2 separate regions of the Homo sapiens genome follow, and region 1 is linked to region 2. The links are contacts of gene promoters, found by promoter capture Hi-C in blood cells and fetal thymus (Javierre and others, 2016). All regions are on one chromosome and are shown on one strand. Each heading gives the region's core, a stretch centred on a gene start or on the middle of the fragment in contact. The rest is flanking DNA. Distances are from core to core; before and after follow the strand shown. Region 1 overlaps DOCK11 (dedicator of cytokinesis 11). Region 2 holds the start of DOCK11 (dedicator of cytokinesis 11).

The links. Contacts are between HindIII fragments. The CHiCAGO score rates a contact against its expected background, and 5 or more counts as called.
Region 1: a contact is called between a fragment that was not itself captured here and the fragment with the promoter of DOCK11 in region 2, in 5 of 17 cell types (non-activated CD4 T cells, activated CD4 T cells, neutrophils and 2 more). The highest score is 7.6, in non-activated CD4 T cells.

Annotation. Positions count from the first base shown.
Region 1 is chrX:118,639,478-118,642,237 of GRCh38, reverse strand. It overlaps DOCK11 (dedicator of cytokinesis 11), which reads right to left. Exons shown (of 53, transcript NM_144658.4): 38 at 2,661-2,760; 39 at 933-1,048. Among named protein-coding and RNA genes, the nearest start is that of IL13RA1, 87 kb to the left of the region's middle. The HindIII fragment of the contact is 5,304 bases long and covers 1-2,760 here.
Region 2 is chrX:118,494,510-118,497,209 of GRCh38, reverse strand. DOCK11 (dedicator of cytokinesis 11) reads right to left here and starts at 1,395. Exons shown (of 53, transcript NM_144658.4): 1 at 1,137-1,395. The coding sequence starts at 1,238. RefSeq lists silencers at 868-927, 1,098-1,157, 1,248-1,327, 1,438-1,577 and enhancers at 607-1,585, 1,988-2,057. The HindIII fragment of the contact is 5,195 bases long and covers 1-2,700 here.

The sequences.
Region 1 (2,760 bases), core at 35-2,534, 150 kb before region 2:
TGTTAAATAAATTAGAGGTATCAGAATAGGAGGAAGGAATACAATGTACATCATGAGATCTAATGGCTTTCTTAGTTATTGGCACGATGAAACATGGAGTTGTGTTGCATTTTAATATAGAACAAACCTAATACTTCATAAAGGGATCTGTAGCCTATTTATTAAAGGTATTCTGCAGCCTATTTTATATTAGTATCTAATTCAATTTTCCTTTATAAGCCTCTTTGAAAAGCACAGGCCAGGTTTCCATAGAAAATCTCGAGGTCTGAAGCAATTAACTTAATTACTTAGAGAAGAGGGGAAAAAGGAAAAAAAAAATCTGTATAACTGAAGTGAAAGCAAGCAAGATTTTCACCTTTGAGTTCTTACATTATGGTCACACCGTTTTTACTTTTCAAAGCACTCTCACGTCCATTATCCCATTTCCCCCTCCAATAATCCTGCTAGATAACTGCTTTTACCTTCTTTTTAAAATCATAGCAATGATGATTTGCACTGAGAGGCAAACATCTGAGAAAAAACACTAAGTGCGCGCCTAGGGAAGCCAGCCAGACTGCCCGGACATCATCTACCCTGACAGGACATCTCATCACAATGGGTATTTGGGCAAACAGATCCAATCATATTTTGGGCTAAAAATTGCTGGCTACTTAAAGTATGGAAACTTTGTTTTTAAATACGAAAATCTAATAGAATTTAAGAGGTAGAAGAGAGCTTAAGGGCAAGTTAGTCCACTCCCTTCCCTTTATGGATGACACAAGTGAGTCTCAGTGACTTCCAGGGTCACATGATAACCAAACTAGAACTGCCATCCACATTTCCTGACTATTCATGCCAGCCTTTTTCAGTGTACTACCCCACATTGACTAGGTAATTTCTGCATAATGTTACTTTGCAATGGTACCAACTGAATTATAACTCTTCATTTTTACCTTGAAGCACTGAGTGAAAAATGATATGGTGTCTAGTACTGTTAGGGAAACTTCAGTAGCTGTATTGCCTTCAAGAAGTGCCTGGTGGAAAATGTCTGCTTCAGTTGTTGTAGAACCTAGGATTAAAAAAGTAAATTAAACTTTTCCCAACACGAAGATGCACATAATGGTGTTGAATGACTTTCTACCCAAAGACTTAAGACAAGAAAGGGGGCTCGGCTGGGTGCGGTGGCTCATGCCTGTAATCCCAGCACTTTGGGAGGCTGAGGCGGACAGATCATGAGGTCAGTTCAAGACCAGCCTGGCTAGCATGATGAAACCTGTCTCTACTAAAAATACAAAAAATTAGCCGGGCATGGTGGCACGTACCTACAATCCCAGCTACTCAGGAGGCTGAGGCAGGAGAATCACTTGAACCCGGGAGGCAGAGGTTGCAGCGAGCCGAGATCACGTCACTGCACTCCAACCTGGGTGACAGAGTGAGACTCCGTCTCAAAAAAAAGAGGGCTCACAGTGTCATACTGTATTTAACTCCTTCATCAAATATAGTCTGGGTTAATCAATTTCATTAGTTTTCATTACAGTTCTGTATCAACAGCTCTGCAGGACATAATTAGGTGCCCACCTCTTTGGAGACAAGGTTTCAGTGATGAACTCTGGCGATGTAACTAGGAAATAATGTGGGAGGCCTTCTAAGTCATGCCACTAATTATGTGGGTAAAAATGAGAAACCACTAAATAGAAATTCAGCTACAGATAAACAGTAGTGCCCTATGGTCAGACATTTTCAATTATGCCAATTATATGACATTTGTTTCTAAATCAGAAGGAAAACAAGGTATCTTGGAGGCAACTGAAGGAAGTGGTTCATCATATTTTTACAAGAAGCTGAAGGCTTTAAAACATGCAGATTTAAAGGTCCTGAGTCTATTAGTTCAGGGTCTAGCAAAACATTATTTTTTATTACTAGGTCTTACCACAAAGCCAGTTTTGCTGGCTTCCTTTTCTGAAACCTTCAGAGGACTGTGTGGAAACAAAACATTCTCACTCTTTGAGTTGTTATTAATATTTGCTTTTCATAGGATAGCTTCCATTTATATAACCCTCTAGCTTCCGCAGTTGGGCAAGATTTCTCTCCTTGCCCTATTTGCCTTGTCAATACTTCAACCTGTCTGAAATACACCTTTGCCAAACTAGTATTTAGGATTCACCGATTTCTGCAGTCAACTCAGCATGTTCATTCCCTAATCATTAAATGACCAAAAGTAACTAAACAAATATTACATATACTATTATATTAAGATGTCAATATTTGCATTGAAGTCTAACAGTAGGAATGAAGAATACTCAATATAAAAATATTATGAGAATAGCAATTCCATGGGAAAAATTTAGTTTCTTTAACACTAAGAAGAAAACATCATGACCTAAAATTGTTCAAAAATCCATGTGTATTTTATCATTTTATAGTCATGTATGATGAAATTGATTATATACATAGCAGAGAGATGCAAACACATGTATGGGAAATCATTTCCCATCATATTGGCAATTTAAACCAGGACTTCTTTTCTTCATACATATTTAAGGGATACAGGTGATATTTTGTTACATGCATATAATGTGTAATGATCAAGGTATTTATGGTATCCATCACCTTCAGTTTTTATTATTTAAACCAGGACTTCTTTAAGGTCAAATGGGTACCACACACACATTTTCACTTACTGTGATTAAGTGTAAATGAACTTTCTAGGCTACTAAGATGCTGAAGCCGGGCCTGCATTACTCCTGATCTGTTTCGAAGAGCAGGCATGGTTTGCGATTT
Region 2 (2,700 bases), core at 146-2,645:
AAGAGCCCTCTCTTAAACGGTGAAATTTAAACACAGCAAACGACTCGCTGTAAAATGGAGCTGAGGGAGACAAAAACAAACAAAAACAACAACCAAAAAACAAAGTAACAAAACAAACACTAATTAATCAGTCCGATTGCTTATTCAGGGTTTGTTCGCTTGTCCAGGAAACTGGCAACGAGTGTCTTGAAAACAAGAGAAGGGGCAAGTGCCCGTTAGCACCCTTTAGCCTTTCTCCAGAGTCAGACAATCTGGATAAGGCTGAGGGTGCTCTGGGAGGGTTCCCAGGGAGTCAGCGCGCTTTCGAATCCCCATCCCCCAGTCCTGAGCTGTGGGGCTCTGACCCCAGGTCCTCCATCCCTGGACTGACACACCCAGTCTTCCCCCAAATCCCCACGGCACCGTCCCCTTGGTCCCCTTGCCTCTGGAGCGCTCGCGTGTCCCCGAGGGACACACTCTCCCTGCGGTGGATGACCCTGCGCCCACTCTGTCGCAGAACCCCGTTGTTTCTAATGCCCTTCCTCCGCAGCAGCACCCCTTCAACACCCATCACCACCCTCTCTCCCCAGTTGCAGGAGGAAGTCGCTCTGCTTCCTCTGTTCTCACCGCCAGCCCGAGCTTGGGCGCCCGGGGCTTTCTGGGTGGGGTTCTTTTTTGTGTACACAGTGTGTGTATGTGTGCGCGCGAGAGTGTGTGTGCCAAACGCTCATCGCATCCTTCCGCCTAGGCGGCCTCAGGTGCTCGCGGGAGGGGATCAGGATCTCGTCGTGCCCTTGTCCCCGGCTCTTTGTGCCGAGTCCAGAGCAGCGCGAGGTCAGCTCTTTAGCTCACACCCCCGGCCCCGACCCTGGGTGGGAGCCTCCGCCTCCGCCTCCTCCGCAGCCGTCCGAGCCCGGCTTTTGCCCGTCTGCTTCCATCCCGGCGCACGCCTCCGCCGTGCCGGGCGGCCGGAGAGCTGTCAGCCGGCGCCTGGGACTCGGACCCCGGCCGGCGGCTGCCGGTGCGAAAACTTACTGGAGCGGAGAAAGACAGCGCGCGGCGCACCAAGCGGCCGCACTGGCGCCGTTCCTGCCCCTTCCCGCGTCGCTCCCGCCTGGAGCGCGTCCCCCGGGATGCCCCGTCCCCCGGCCACTCACCAGCACCACGGAGCCCCGCACGGCCTCAGACACGCTCTGCCGGAGCTCAGCCGCCGTGCCAGGCTTGCTGAGCCGTTTGGTGAATTTGCGCACTTCGGCCATGGCAGCGGCGGCGGGCGGGTCTCGGCGGGCGGGCGGACCTCGGCGGGCGGGTGGACTCACTGCCCCGGCCCGCGGCGGCCGCGGCCGCTGCTGCTCCCTCTGTTTACTCGCCGGCCGGCCGGCCACATCGCAGCTCGGCGGCGGCGCGGCTCACGCTGCTCCTCCCTCCCACCTCCCACCCGCTGCTCCTCCCTCGTTCCCTCCTTCCCTCCTTTTCTCGCTCGCTTCGCCCGCTCACTGTCCTGCCCCACGGCGTCGGCGGCGGCAGCTCCCTCCCCTAGAGGGCCCGAGCTCCGATCGCCACCAGCCGAAGCAGGAGGGTGTGTCTGATGGGGAAGGGTGTGTAGAGGGGGAGGGAGAACTGGAGGTGGGGGCGAGGGTCACGAGGGAAGAGGGGGGAAGTGGCTACCGCTCGGGCTCCGCCCGCAGCTGATGTTGCTGGTGCAGCCGCATCCGGGAGGGGAGATCTGGGCTGCTTCTTTTTTTCCGCTTGAGTGGGGAGGGCGGGGTGGGGTGGGGGAACAGAGAGGGGTGATGAAATGTCTCCAAGAGTGGGGCGTGCTCCTCTCCCGCCCTAGTGCTCCTCTCCCGCCTCCGAGCTGCAGTGCCCGCAGGAGGGCTGGAGAACTCTCACGTCCCTCCACCCCGCAAGCCCCCAGGGCCCAGGCGGCTAGGGGCTGGAAAACAACGTGGAGCAGCCGCCTTTTGTGTGCTCCTTGGGGAAGGGTCGCACCAATGTCGAAGGACAGAGAGCTGCTTTCCAGCGTGAGCGGCTCGACTGGGTCCCCCTCCTCGCCCACACCGTTTTCCTACTCAGTTGGCTCACCTAACAGGGGGCAACACTGGGGAGAGAGCATGCTTCTGGAAGTGGGAACTTATTGTGGCGGCACCCCTCGCTCCGTCCCCCACGGGGGAGAGCTGGGTGGTGGAGCCTGAGCCTGTGGCAGGTGATCCCTAGGTCAGCACTGACTGCACCAGGAGTGGGGTGGGGGTGGGCATTAGGATGAGCCTGTGGCAGGTGATCCCTAGGTCAGCACTGACTGCACCAGGAGTGGGGTGGGGGTGGGCATTAGGAAGGCCATCTCCCTGGGTTTGGTGGACTTACCAATCTTATAGTAGCTTTTACAAGTGCCCTGCACTCACCTCTCCATTTCCTATTCATCTCCTTACTCTTTTCAGCTTCCAAGAAATTGTTTTTCCAAGAATCAAAGAACATCTCATAACAGGGTATAAAACGAACATGCTTAAGACAGAAATAGGGACGGGAATCTTGAAGTACTAGTGACCCTGTCAGACCTCCTGAAGTGCAGAGTGAAAGGCTCCACTGATGGTGGCAGTTTTCTATCTGGTTATTTCATTTGTTGAGAGTTTGAAAATGGCCCTCAGTCTGGGGGACCGAGCAGCCCTTCTGAAAGCAGTCCTACCACCACCCATCGGGCACTTTCCCCACCCTCAAAGACCA